Linked DNA regions of Homo sapiens: all the other regions are linked to region 3. Evidence: promoter capture Hi-C in human tissues and cell types (Jung and others, 2019). All regions are on one chromosome and are shown on one strand. The core of a region is centred on a gene start or on the middle of the fragment in contact, and the rest is flanking DNA. Distances in the headings are between cores, read along the strand shown.

Region 1 (3,316 bases), core at 4-2,503, 1.1 Mb after region 3:
AGGTCAAGGCTCTGCTAAGGTCATTGTCCTTATCCCCAGCAATCCCACAGGATGGGCATCTTTAAGCCACTTTATAGGGGAGAACCCTTGGGATGGGAATGAGAGACACAGCAGCCTCTGAGCTAGCCTGGGAGGATCCAGGGAGTGAACCGGGGGAGGGTTGGGGCCCTGTCATCAGATGCCCTGGGGGCTCAGACGGAGGCAGGCCAGGTCTCTGCCCTGTTACGTCTAGAAGGAGAACAGAATGTGGGCTCCAGGTCCAGATGGCCTGGCTCCAAGCCACACTTGCCATACCTCAGTCTTGAGATCTGTGAAAAGGGCACACCCCTGAGGCAGGTGGAAATTATTGGATACCCAGGGGGAGGCTGCAAGGGTTTATCTGGCCAGCTGGAGATCCCGCCTGGACACCGTCCTCCTGGGGTGCTGGAGAGACACACAGGCGAGGCCACCCCTCCCCTGCCCCTTGGGTGCTGGGTGAAGAGAGCAAATTCTGGAGCCTCCCGTGTTAGCCTGGGCCCTTCTGGCCAAGGAAGGGACAGCTGCACACAAGCCCCTCTAGCTGGGGACCCGCAGCCCCTGCCTGGCTCTGGGGGGAGAAGGGAGCCAGGGTGCTGTGGGACCAGCTCACCGTGCACCCAGGGTCGTACATCTTTAAGGGGAAAGAGGCGCGCTGGCCGGCCTCTGCGCACGTCACTTCTTCATTCCTTCCCTCCCCCCTGGCTCTTTCCTCCAACTTCCCGGCCAGCTCGGGGGTGATGGGGGGGTGGGGAGGGGGGGCCTTAAAAATCCACCCCTGGCCCCTCAATGTCCAGAAACAACCCTGTCCCCCCTCTCCGCTTGATCCGAATTGGGGTCGCCCTGCAGTCCTGGGGTCCTGGTCTAGTGCCCTGGGGCATTGCGTAAATACGGGAGGAGCGGGGGGGTCCTGAGACGTCGGGGGAGGCTCTCCTTTCTCGCTCGCGCCCTTTTTTCCCTCGTTTCTTTGAAAGTTGGGTGTTGAGAAGTGGGAGGTTCGGGGTGGGAGGGGGAGGGTGTCAGAGGGTAGAGAGAGAGACAGAGAGACAGAGACGGGGGAGAGAGGAAGAGAGAGACGGAGGGAGAGAGGGACAGAGAGCGAGGCGGGCGGCGCGAGAGAGGGAGAGCAGGAGGGAGGAGGAGGGAGACCGAGGGAGGAGGCGGCGAGGAGAGCGCGCCGGCCGCGGGGCGGGGGGGGGGGTTGGGGGGGGCGGGGGGGTGGTTTGGAAAAATGACTCAGTAAGTTCAGCGCGCCCGCTCCGGCCGGCCCTGCGCCTCCCGCCGCGCCCGGGATGTATTCGTCCCCGCTCTGCCTCACCCAGGTACGGTCCTCGCCCGGCCCCCCGCCGGCGCCCCCGCGCCCCCCGCATCCCAGCCCCGGAGTTTTGAAGCAGGAGGAGGCGGGACGAAAAAGGCGCGCGTCCCTCCCGCCATCCCTGCCCGGGATGCCCCCCGCGCCGAGGGCTGGGGTCCGGTGGGGGGATGGGTCAGGCTGGGGTACCCCCCCCACACCCTTACCTACCGCGGACCCCCTACGCGGGACTCCCGCCCAGCACCCCCAACCCCGACTCTCGGGACCTCTCCCGGATGTGGGGCTTGGTCTGCAGATTTGCGTCCCCCCCCCACACACCGACGCACTCCGCACCCCCGCCCCGACACTCGGAAAGGTCGGGGTGGGGGCTGGCCCCCCTCCAGCAAGGGCTCTGCGGGAAGCCCCCCGCCTGCCTCTGAGAGGAATCTAGGGGGTCGTGATTGGACCCTGGGTCTCCCCAGCTGGAGAGAAAGGGACCTCTCATGTGTTTTCCCCGTGTCCCCCCACCAAGGTTGTGCGGGCCGCCCTGGCCCTCGGTCGCCTTTCCCTCGTTATTGGCCCACGTGTGCATGGAGGGGGAGGGGGCAGGAGAAGTTGGAGGCCCAGGAGGGGGAAGGGTGCTCCGGCGGCCCGGCTGGGTCCCCCCTCCTTTGCAAGCCCCCCAGCACCGTCCCGGTATTTTCGCTGCATCGATTCTGGATTCTGGATTCTGGATTCTGGAGCCGCCGCCGGGAGGAGCGGGAGGCCCGGCGCTCCGGGTCTGGCCCGGGCACTGCGGCGCTGCGGACGCCCTCGCCAGCCCGGCACCTGCCCCGTCCCCTCCCCCTCCCCCTCCCCCTCCCGTAGCCTCTCACCCCTGGCCGCACTCCCAGACTGCCCCGGGGCCGAGCCTTGTGCAATGGCCGAGGGGGTGTGTGGGGAGGGGGCGGCTCCCCCCGGGGACTCCTTCCAGCCCAGGCTCCCGGGGACCCCGAGGTCTGCAAGTTCCGTTTTCTAGACCGCTGCTTTCCTCCTTACGCAGTGTGTCTTTAGGCTGGAGAGGTTCTGGCCTCAGTTTCCCCTGAAGTGAGGTGCGGCTAAGGCCGGTTCTGGAGAGGGGACAGTATGGCGGGCAAACTGTAAAGTCCCGGCACGTGGGGGGTGCGATTCCAGCGAGGGCCAGGCCCGTCTTAAGAAGCACTGTGTGGGGAGTATATGAGTCCCCGGCTTCCGCTCCAGGGCATGGTGCAGTGAGGGACCCCCCACGCCAGGCATGCTCCTTGGTAGGGTCTTTCTCACCGGCCCCCTGCAGCCGACAGGGAATGTGGGAGCTGGTGCTGAGGGGGTCTGAGGTCTGTCCTACCTGTGATCCCCTGAGTGACCTTGGGTAAGTCCCTGTCCCAGCCTCAGTTTCCCTTTCTGAGCAGCTTTGGGGGGGGGGTTCCCGAAGAAGGCATCTCTTTGAAGTTCTCCAAGAACAACTAGGGTTCGAGTGGGCACGCTGTGTGACCTCGGGCAGCCTTTGAAGTCTCTGGGCTTGTGGGGTGACTGAGGTGTCCCCGCTCTGTCCTCACCAGCTGGAAGGAGCCATTTGGGAGGGCTGAGCGGAGGGGAGGCTGTTCCAGGCTGGGGAGGTTGGAAGGCTGCCTGTGCACCCTGGAATTCCCCCATCAGGGCTGGTTGGGAGACATCCTGGTTGCTGGGGTGGGTTGGGGGTTAGTAAGAACCCCAGTCCAGGCTTTGCCTCAGAGAATTGCTAACTCGGCCTCAGTTTCTCCAGGAACAGGGCAAGGACCAGCCAGGAGGGCTGTCTGTGGAAACCAAAAAACGGAGAGGCTAAAAACTAAAAACTATCCAGGGGTGCTGCGTGCAAGAGACAGAGATGAGAAGACAGAGACAGGCAGAGAGACAGAGGCAGAGAGCTCCCAGGCCAGAGTGGGGACAGCGAGTCCCAAGTGCAGGGGGCTCCCTCCTCCCCTGCGATTCTCCTCTCTGCCCCGCCCTCCACCC
Region 2 (3,290 bases), core at 493-2,992, 1.3 Mb after region 3:
CTCCTGGAGCTGACATTCCTCCAGTCCTGGGGACAAACAGGACAAAAGATGAAATGAAATATCAGCAGGGGGCTGGGGCTCAAGCCTGTAATCCCAACATTTTGGGAGGCTGAGGCGGGAGGATTCCTTGAGGTCAGGAGTTCGAGACCATCCTGGCCAACATGGTGAAACCCCCGTCTCTACTAAAAATACAAAAAAAATTAGCTGGGCATGGTGGCAGGTGCCTGTAATCCCAACTAATCAGGAGGCTGAGGCAGAAGAATCGCTTGAACCCGGGAGGCAGAGGTTGCAGTGAGCCGAGATCGTGCCACTGCACTCCAGCCTTGGCAAGAGAGAGAGACTCCGTCTCAAAAAATAAAATAAAATAAAATATCTGATATGTCAGATGGTAGCTTTAAATGCTGAAGAGAAGCTGGGCACAGTGGCTCACATCTGTAATCCTAGCACTTTGGGAGGCCAAGGCTGAAGGATGGCCTGAACCTCCTGGTCTTGAGTTTGAGACCAGCCTGGGCAACACAGTGAGATCCCAACTGTACAAAAAATTAATCATGTTTCTAAATTAAATTTTAAAAAACTGAATGCGGCCGGGTGCGGTGGTTCACGCCTGTAATCCCAGCACTTTGGGAGGCCAAGGCAGGTGGATCACCTGAGGTCAGGGGTTCGAGACAAGCCTGACCAACATGGTGAAACCCTGTCTCTACTAAAAAATACAAAAATTAGCCAGGCATGGTGGTGTGCGCCTATAATCCCAGCTACTAGGGGGGCTGAGGCAGGAGAATCGCTTGAACCCAGGAGGTGGAGGTTGCAGTGAGCCGAGATCACGCCATTGCACTCCAGCCTGGGCGACAGAGCTAGACTCCGTCTCCAAAATCAAACAAACAAACCAAAGGCTGGGCGTGGTGGCTCATGCCTGTAATCCCAGCTTTTTTGGAGGCTAAGGTGGGTGGATTCCTGAGGTCAGGAGTTCAAGACCATCCTGGCCAACATGGTGAAACCTCATCTCTATTAAAAATACAAAAAAATTAGCCGGGCATGGTGGTATATGCCTGTAATCCCAGCTACTGGGGAGGCCGAGGCATGAGAATTGCTTGAACCTGGTGGGCAGAGGTTGCAGTGAGCTGAGATCGTGCCACTGAACTCCAAACTGGGTGACAGAGCGAGACTCCAGCTCAAAATAAATAAATAAATAAAAATAATAAAATAAAATAAAACAATGACCTCGCCTAGCAGAGGGTGAGTGCTCCAGCACCCTCAGCTGTCCCTGTCCTTTTTTTTTTTTTTTTTTTTTTTTTTGCGACGGAGTCTCGCTTTGTTGCCCAGGCTGGAGTGTAATGGCGCCATCTCAGCTCACTGCCACCTCCGCCTCCCGGGTTCAAGAGATCTCAGCCTCCCGAGTAGCTGGGATTACAGGCGCCCGCCACCACGTCCGGCTGATTTTTGTATTTTTGGTAGAGACGGGGTTTCACCATGTTGGCCAGGCTAGTCTTGAACTCCTGACCTCAGGTCATCTGCCCGCTTCGGCCTCCCAAAGTGCTGGAATTACAGACGTGAGCCACCGCTCCAGGCCTGTCCCTGTCCTTATTTGTGGTCCCTGTTCTTCCAGGGTCCTGAGCTCAGGCCCCCCCGGACTGCGGGTATCCCCGGGGAGGGCACAGCTGGCCCTGGCAGGGCCCGGACACCTGGGGCCCGACCCACCCCTGCGCACCCCGCGGTGTCGCCTTCCCGGGAGGCTCGGGTTCCCAGATCCCCTTACCCGGGCGTCTCGGCTGTCGCGCCCTGGGCCGGGGGAGGGGAGGCTGCAGGAAGCGGCGGATCCGGCGGCGGCGGCGAGGGCCCGGGTGGGTGGCCGAACTTCTCCCGCCATGGAGGGAGCAGCGGCCCGGGAGGCCCGGGGGACCGAGACCCCGCGCGCGTCTGCGCCCCCGCCCGCGCCCTCGGAGCCCCCGGCCGCGCCCCGCGCCCGCCCGCGCCTCGTCTTCCGCACGCAGCTGGCGCACGGGAGCCCCACGGGCAAGATCGAGGGCTTCACCAACGTCCGCGAGCTGTACGCCAAGATCGCCGAAGCCTTCGGGATCGCGCCCACCGAGGTAAGGAGCCCGGACACCGGCGCCCAAGACCACCCGCCTGATGGGGTGAGGGGTAGGGAGCTTGGACCCTGGACGGGAGACCCCAGATCCCCGGATCCCAGACGTCGGGGTGGCCGCCTAATCGCCGGATCTCAGAGACCCAGCCCTCAGATCCCGGGGTGCCACACTCCCAGGGGCCCCCTTTGCACGCTCTGCGCAAAAGATGGGCAGGTCTTAGGACTAGCGGACCCCTAGATATTCCAGAAAATCCTCTGCGCAGACCTAGCTTGGAGCGGACCCCAGCCCTCGGGGAAGCGCCTCTGTGCTTCCTGGGCGTAGCTGGGGTCTGGGGTTCCAGATGGCCCCCTTAGGGATGGGAAGTTTGAGGCCGCCGTGGGGTTGGGGGGTTCCTGGGCGTTTTTCCAATCCGGGTTCGTTTGGTTTGCAGCCCCCAGGGGGCGCCAGCAGATTAAACCTGGAGGTCTGGGGGCTGGAGGTCCCGGGGTATGGAGAGGGGTCTCCACCTGCTGGAAGTCTCCTTCTCCCTCCTCTCTCTGTTCTGGGGGTCCCACGCCCTGCCCTTTCCCATGGGCTGGGATCCTGGTCGCTGGGGGCAGGGGCCTGCGCAGACAGGGTGGCTGCGTGGGGGGATGCATGCCCTGGCTAACTCTAGGCTCCTTCTCCCCCGGGAAGATTTTATTCTGCACCCTCAACAGCCACAAAGTGGACATGCAGAAGCTCCTGGGGGGTCAGATAGGCCTGGAGGACTTCATCTTTGCCCACGTGCGAGGCGAGACCAAGGAGGTGGAGGTCACTAAGACAGAGGATGCTCTGGGGCTGACCATCACGGACAACGGGGCTGGCTACGCCTTCATCAAGGTGCCCGGGAGGGGGTGGGCGGGTGGCTTCCTGGGGTCCAGCAACTGCCCCCCCCACTCTGGGTCGACGTGGGTTCTGCGGATTGGAGGCGGGTGGCTGGGGTTGCCCTGCCAGCGACGCTGGATCCCTGCAGAGAATCAAGGAAGGCAGTATCATCAACCGGATCGAGGCAGTGTGCGTGGGTGACAGCATCGAAGCCATCAACGACCACTCCATTGTGGGCTGCCGCCACTACGAGGTGGCCAAGATGCTCCGGGAGCTGCCCAAGTCCCAGCCCTTCACCCTGCGCCTGGTGCAGCCCAAGAGGGCCTTCGGTGAGGCGGGTGGGCTGGCGGGAGCTCTTCC
Region 3 (3,365 bases), core at 486-2,985:
TGACGAGGTAGTGACTCAGGGGGCGCCGGGGAATGACAGTGCTGTGGGAAGAGACATCAAACTGCCTTCTATTCCCACTCAGCAAGGCACCTTCAGGTCCCGGCTTACCCTGGGGGTGGACGGCTGAGGCTGAGGGAGGCCAGGCAGGGCTGCTGCCGTAACCATCGTGACCTGAGCATCTGTTTTATGGTGGCACCACACTGCAGCCGAGGTGGGCAGCATCTCATTTAATCCCATGTGGGGTGGATCTGAGAGAGGGGACGTCATTTGCCGGAAGTCACCGGTGAAGACCAGACAGGCAGGGCAGGGAAGGCTGAGTTGAACCCTCCTAAGCCCCCATCCCACCGCCCGGCTGCCCCCTTCCTGCCACCCCACATCATCGAGATGGGGACAGGAGCTGGGTCTACAGGGGAAGCCCGTGGGTTCTTCCCACTCAGATCCTGTCTCCGACGATGGCTGCTGCTTCGGCTCAGAGAACAGCCAGGGTAAGGCCATGCCGCGGCAGCCCACCCCACACCAGCCTCCTGATAAAGCCAGCACCACCCTCCCTGAACCTGTTTCCAGCCTGCGTCCTCCACCTGACCACTCACACCTCACACCTTCTGCATCCTCTCCAGGCCACTTCCAGGGAGCCCTCCTGGGTTGCTCTGGTTCTCACAGCTCTGTTGTCCCTGAAGGCTCCCCCCAGCCAAGCCCCAGATCGTCCCTCTGCAAATACCACTGCACAGCAGACGCCCGCTCCCCACCCCCGCCGGAGCAAGGGTGTCTGCAGCCTCGCTGCGTCCATGGTTTAGCCAGGGACCGCTTGCTAAAATGCAGCTTCTGGGGCACATCGCCTCAGAAGTTCTGACTCCTCAGAACTGGGGGGGCCGGGACACCGGCACCGTTAGCGCCCCAAGCACACGTTGAGAAACCCAGTTACATGGTGGTCTCCAGCGTAAGGACCCGGGGCTTTTCTTGTGCCCGGACCAAGGCACGAGGTGCTGCTCCCCTAAACTTGTTGAATGGGACTCAGGGCCTCCCCTGGCCAGGCCCCAGAGGCCCGGGAGGTGGCGGCACCCACTCAGGGTGCCCAGGCCCACCATTTCTGGTGCTATTCAGACGCCCCCAGAGCAGGGGGACTCAGCCCTATGCCCCCAGGTCCCTCCCCGCCAGGCCGGGCCGTCAGCTCCAGCGATGGAGCAGGCTCCGGTGTGGACCCCAGATACCCTTTGCGTCTTCCAGCTCCGCACCCCCAGGCTGGACCAGACCCGGCTCGGGGGAGACAGGGCAGGAAGGCGCGGGCTGCAGGCTCTATTCGGACGTTCCCCACACCCCAGACCCAACCAGTGCCCCCTTCATCTCCTCCTGGAGAGGAGCGCATCCTCCCAGCGTCCCCAGTGCCCCGGGGAGATGCCCACCCGATTCCCCGCTCCTTGGCGCCCCAGAGGAGGGGCGGGGGGCCCCAGGGTGGGGAGTTCGCCCCCAAAGTTTCCAGGGGGAGCGTCGGGGGCCTGGCAAGGAGCGATGAGCCCGGGAGGGGTGCGCGGGGCAATTTCCCCCGGCTGAGGATGGGGTCGCGGGTTGGGGGCTTTGGGCGGCAGGGTCGCAGGGTGCAGGTGAGGGGTCCCCAGGTCTGCGGGCGCGCCCCACGCCGGGCCCCGGCACGGCCACTCACCTGGGCGGCTCCGCCGCGGACACGGCGCGGGCTGCGGCGCGGGGGCCGCCCGGAGCCGACACGAGCAGCCGCCGCCGCCGCCGCCGCCGCCGCCGCCGCCTCCCGGGCTCCGCCGTGCGCGCCGCCGCCGCGCGCAACCGCCCGCCGGTCTCCTCGGCGCGCCTGGCGGGGGCGCGCGGGGGCTGCGCTGGGCCGCGTGCGCGGCGGCTGGGGCCGCAGGTGTGAGAGGCCACGTGGGCGCAGGTGCGGGGACACTGGGAGCGCGGGTGCAGAACCCCTCCGTGCGCATCCCGGGCGCTTCGTGTCCGAGGACCTCCTGTCCCCACGGCCTGGGTGAGCCTGCGGAGACGGCCGTGCCGTGCAATAAACGCAGGGGCACCCCAAGTGCAGCAGGTTGTTCCGTGTGGAACCTTCTGGAAGCTACCATCGCCTCCTCTGCCCCCCGTCCCCCACCCCTAGTCCAGGCCGCCACCATCTGCACCTGGACATCTGCCACAGCCCAGCCCAGGCCCATTCCTTATGTGGCCCTCAGAGGAAGCCCCTCAGAGGAAGCTTAGCCACTGGGCTCCAGAACCTGCCGTGATTCCCTATTGCCGTGAGGGTCCCGTCTGCACCCCACCTACCCTGGAATTTCTCTTTCTTTCGTTCTTTCTTTCTTTCTTTCTTTCTTTTTTTTTTTGAGATGGAGTCTTGCTCTGTTGCCCAGGCTGGAGTACAGCGGTGCCATCTTGGCTCACTGCAACCTCCGCCTCCTGGGTTCAAGCGATTCTCCTGCCTCAGCCTCCCAAGTAGCTGGGATTACAGGCACCCGCCACCACGCCCGGCTAATTTTTGTATTTTTATTAGAGACGGATTTTCAGCATGTTGGCCAGGCTGGTCTCAAACCCCTGACCTCGGGTGATCCACCCACCTCGGCCTCCCAAAGTGCTGGGATGACAGGTGTGAGCCACCGCCCGGCTGCCTGCACTGTTTGGTCTGCCGCACCACCTCCTTCCCCCTGGCCTGTCCTCACTCACTCTTTCCCGGGCTCCACCCCCTCAGCCTTCCTCAAACAGGCCAAGTCCCTCCAGTCCCAGGCCTTTGATCTTCGCTGTGCCCAGCTTGGACAGCCTTTCTCTCTGTCCCTCCATCGAGCAGCTTGGAGCCTCTCAGTTTGTCTAATGGGCTTGTTCCCCAATGTGCCTTCCGCCTAGCACACAGCAGCGCACACACCAAGTGCACTGCGAGTGCTCATGGAAAGTTTTTTACCTTTTTTTTTGTCTTTTTTTTTTTTTTTTTTTTTTGAAATGGAGTTTTGCTCTCGTCACCCATTCTGGAGTGCAGTGGTGCAATCTTGGCTCACTGCAACTTCCACCTCCCGGGTTCAGGCGATTCTCCTGTCTCAGTCTCCCAAGTAGCTGGGATTACAGGCGCCCATGACCATGCCTGGCTAATTTTTGTATTTTTAGGGGAGATAGAGTTTCACCATGTTGGCCAGGCTGGTCTCGAACTCCTGACCTCAGGTGATCCACCCGCCTCGGCCTCCCAAAGTGCTGGGATGACAGACGTGAGCTACTATGCCCGGCCCCTCACTGCATCTTCTAAAAGCCACATTTAGCCTCCCTGTCTCACAGATGAGCAAACCAAGGCTGGGAGATGCCATTTGTCCCAAGTGAGGGGTGAGAAGGAGGCCTCGGGAACCTGTGTGTGTAACCTTGCCCTGTCTGCC
Region 4 (3,476 bases), core at 11-2,510, 1.6 Mb before region 3:
CATGCCCAGCAGACACCCAACCGCTCTCCACCACCTCAACCTTCTGTATTTTCCTGAAAGCATTTACCACTCCTTGAAGTTATAGATTAATTTGTCTCTGCATTTTGTTGTCCAAACCAGGAGCTCGGTGAGGGTGTGATGGGGTCTGCCTTGGTCACCGTGGCACCCCAGCACCCCGCAGGGTCCCTCTGGCCAAAAGAGATGTTCACTGATGCCCTAGAAGCAGGAACAGAGGGGCTCCCCTGCGCTCGCCAAGGGCGCCTGACAAATCTGGAGGCCCCCATGACAGAATCAGCTCCAGAGTAGGAAATGTGTCTGGCTGCACGAAAGCCCCCTCGGGCGCAGCGCCTCCAGGCCCACGCAGATGTCGCTGTCATACATTGTTGGAAACGCCTCTGCTGGAAACAGTGTTTGCTGAATCTTGGAGGGAGAGGAAAAAACCTAGTAAACATTCTTGTTGAGGTGATCTGGGGGAATGTCTGCAAAGGCTTGGAGGGCTGATGGGGCAGAGCTGCCCAGGGGCCCAGGACAAAGGCCAGGCGTGCGCGCGCACACACACACACACACACACACACACACGCAGTGGCCTCCCTGGGGGCCGTGGCTGGGCGAGGCCTGCTGTTGTCCGAGATGCTGGAAGGAGCTGTGTCTCTGGGTCTGTCCCGGCCGCACCCCGTTCTGTCCCACACCCAACCACTCCCCACCCACAGGCCGGCTCCAGCGGCCAGGTGGACGGGTGCGCGGCCCGCGCTGTGAGCAGGGAACCATATCCAGCTGAGGTTTTGGGTGTGTGGGGCGGGTCGGGAACAAGGAGGCCGGGTTGGGGGGCTCAGACCACACTTGGACCATGAAAGTGACCACATGCAAATCACAGAAACGGGATGCAGGGATCCACAGACGTGCTCCTCTTGGGTCCCCGTTACCTCACCGCCACCCCTGAAACTGAAGACCCCCAAACCCACTTTAATTCCTGGAGACGGCCCCTCGATCCACCCAAAAGGCTGCCACCACCTCGAACCCACACCCCTGTCCCGGTTCCGCCCTGGGTCCAGCCACATCTCCCCAAATGCATTCTCTGGCTCCGGAAGGGGACCCGGGCGCTCGCCCCCAACTGCCCCCCGCAGCGGCCGGGCCCGGCGCCTGCCCACCCCGCGCGGGACACGGCCTCGCCCCCGCCACTCCCGCGCCGCGCCCCGCCCCGCGCCCCGCCCCGCCCGCGGCCCGCGGGACCTTTATAGGGAGCGCCGGCCGCGCGCTGGGAAGTCGGTGCCGCTGCCGTCTCTGCGTTCGCCATGCGTCCCGGGGCGCCAGGGCCACTCTGGCCTCTGCCCTGGGGGGCCCTGGCTTGGGCCGTGGGCTTCGTGAGCTCCATGGGCTCGGGGAACCCCGCGCCCGGTGAGTGGGGCGGCCAGAGGGGCGGGCGGGGCGGGCCACCCACGTGGGGCTGCGCGGAATGCGGCCGGGGGGACGTCGGGGGGCGCGGCGGCGGCGGCGGGGGCGAGGGCGGTGTCCGGCGCAAGCTGGAGCCGGGAAGGTCTGAAGGAGGGTCACCAAGAGGTCAGCAGAGCAGAGGTTTCTAATCACAATGACCGCTGACATTTATTGAGCGCTTAGTGTCTACCTCTCCCCTCCCTGAACCTGTGCCATCCCGATAGTGCCGGAGCTCTCTTCATCTCCGTCTTCCAGATGGGGAAACTGAGGCTCAGGGTCACACAGCCTGTAGCAGGCAAAGCCAGGGTTCTAGCCGCGACCGTCCGGGTCGGTCCTGGTGCCGAGAGGTAGTGCTGGGTGTCGGGAGCCAGGCCCTCCAGCTGGGGCTGAGAGCTTTCCCGGGTCCTGGGTAGACGGGGCATGGAGTCTCACACCTGGGACTTGCCGGGAGGTGCCAGGCAGGAGACGGCCCCACTCCTGGCCTCAGTTTCCCCTCCTATGATGGGTGCCAAGGTGCTGCGTTCCACAAGCTGGTCCCTGGCAGTGTCTGTGAACCAGCAAGCGCTCTGGGATGGGGGCTGTGGCCGTTCCTGCCCCCAGGGACGGGGGAAGAAATGGGGGGCTCTCTGGCTCCCCACCCCCCATCCCTGCAGCCCCACCCCACCCCAGCCCTGCGCCAAAGGGAGAGCAGAGCCCCCTCCCCGAAGGCCACGTCCCTGGGGAGACAGTGAGCTCATGCAAGGGGAATGTTCCCAAGTTGGAGTGAGTAAGAGGCGGGCCAGGCGGTGGGGGGGCTGCCAGGCGCGGGGCTCCGCGTGCCCTCGCCCTCGGGTGCTGTCTAGACAGAGGGCAGAGGCGGGAGAAGCGGCTCCAGGGCCTGCTGACCCTGACATGCCCAGTGCCTGGTGTTTGGTGGTGTTTGAGGGGTTGGGCAGGGTGCCAGCCCCTGGCCTGGGGGCTTGGAGGGTACGGGAAGGGACCTCCTGGGGTGGGTGGGGGTTGGTGGTGAGGCTGTGGGGGGGGGCACGTGGAGCTCAGAGGGGAGGAGACATTTCCAGGGTTCTGGAGCCAGGGTGGGGACACCCATGTGGTTTTCTGCCCCTTCTTCCTGGGTGGGGGTAGATCATTCCGTGCGTAACTACTCAGCACCACCTGCATGCATCTGTGGGCGGGCCAGAAGCTGGGTGTCAGGAGTGGCCCAGGAGAGCACCCCGTTCCCCGGCCCGCAGGTGGTGTTTGCTGGCTCCAGCAGGGCCAGGAGGCCACCTGCAGCCTGGTGCTCCAGACTGATGTCACCCGGGCCGAGTGCTGTGCCTCCGGCAACATTGACACCGCCTGGTCCAACCTCACCCACCCGGGGAACAAGATCAACCTCCTCGGCTTCTTGGGCCTTGTCCACTGCCTTCCCTGCAAAGGTGAGACCTCAGGCCAGAAGCAGGGCAGACGTCTCAGCTCAGGACCAGCCACAAACAGTCATGGTGGTCGAGGGCCGAACGTCCAGGGACTGAGCCCGTCACAGGGGTATGTAGGAGGCTGCAGGGGGATCCCAGCCTCAGAGAGGGACTGGGGGGACTTCCCGGTTCCCAGGCTCCAGCCTCTTGCAGCTCAGGACTCAGGAAGAGACCACGTGGCTCCAGCCTTTGCTGGGGCTGAGCTCTCTGCCTGGGTGGCTCTTCCCACCTGGTCGATAAATGTCTGGCTTGCACCTAGCTCCTGGGAAGGTGGGTTTGCCATTCTGGCCTGTGACCCCAAATGTCCACACCAGGGACCTTCACTGCAGACTCCAGGGTCTGCGGTGGGGTTACAGCTGCATGTTTAACAAGCATTTGCCTCGGGACCCTGTTTTGAGAGGATGCCTCCCACATCAGACTAGGGGCTCTTGGTTGGCGAGTGGCACAGAACGAATGAATAAGATTCTCCGCACTGGAGGATGATGGTTTTTTTTTTTTTTTTTTTTTTTTTTCCTGAGATGGAGCCTCGCTCTGTCACCCAGGCTGGAGTGCAGTGGTGCGATTTTGGCTCACTGCAACTTCGGCCTCCGAGGT

Evidence for each region. The method cuts DNA at HindIII sites, captures the fragments that hold promoters and counts their contacts. A contact is called where the count stands out against the background at its distance.
Region 1: a contact is called between the fragment with the promoter of NFIC here and the fragment with the promoter of LINGO3 in region 3, in 1 of the 25 tissues and cell types used here (stomach).
Region 2: a contact is called between the fragment with the promoter of GIPC3 here and the fragment with the promoter of LINGO3 in region 3, in 1 of the 25 tissues and cell types used here (aorta).
Region 4: the fragment with the promoter of FSTL3 here is called in contact with the fragment with the promoter of LINGO3 in region 3 in 1 of the 25 tissues and cell types used here (heart left ventricle).

The regions. Positions count from the first base shown.
Region 1 is chr19:3,365,330-3,368,645 of GRCh38, forward strand. NFIC (nuclear factor I C) reads left to right here and starts at 1,254. Exons shown (of 11, transcript NM_001245002.2): 1 at 1,254-1,337. The coding sequence starts at 1,308. RefSeq lists silencers at 883-972, 1,423-1,572, 1,863-2,262. The HindIII fragment of the contact is 27,364 bases long and covers 1-3,316 here.
Region 2 is chr19:3,583,736-3,587,025 of GRCh38, forward strand. GIPC3 (GIPC PDZ domain containing family member 3) reads left to right here and starts at 1,743. Exons shown (of 6, transcript NM_133261.3): 1 at 1,743-2,087; 2 at 2,760-2,945; 3 at 3,079-3,259. The coding sequence starts at 1,863. The HindIII fragment of the contact is 10,668 bases long and covers 1-3,290 here.
Region 3 is chr19:2,306,419-2,309,783 of GRCh38, forward strand. LINGO3 (leucine rich repeat and Ig domain containing 3) reads right to left here and starts at 1,736. Exons shown (of 2, transcript NM_001101391.3): 1 at 1,658-1,736. The HindIII fragment of the contact is 18,961 bases long and covers 1-3,365 here.
Region 4 is chr19:675,132-678,607 of GRCh38, forward strand. It overlaps FSTL3 (follistatin like 3), which reads left to right and starts at 1,261. Exons shown (of 5, transcript NM_005860.3): 1 at 1,261-1,395; 2 at 2,661-2,846. The coding sequence starts at 1,293. The HindIII fragment of the contact is 14,894 bases long and covers 1-3,476 here.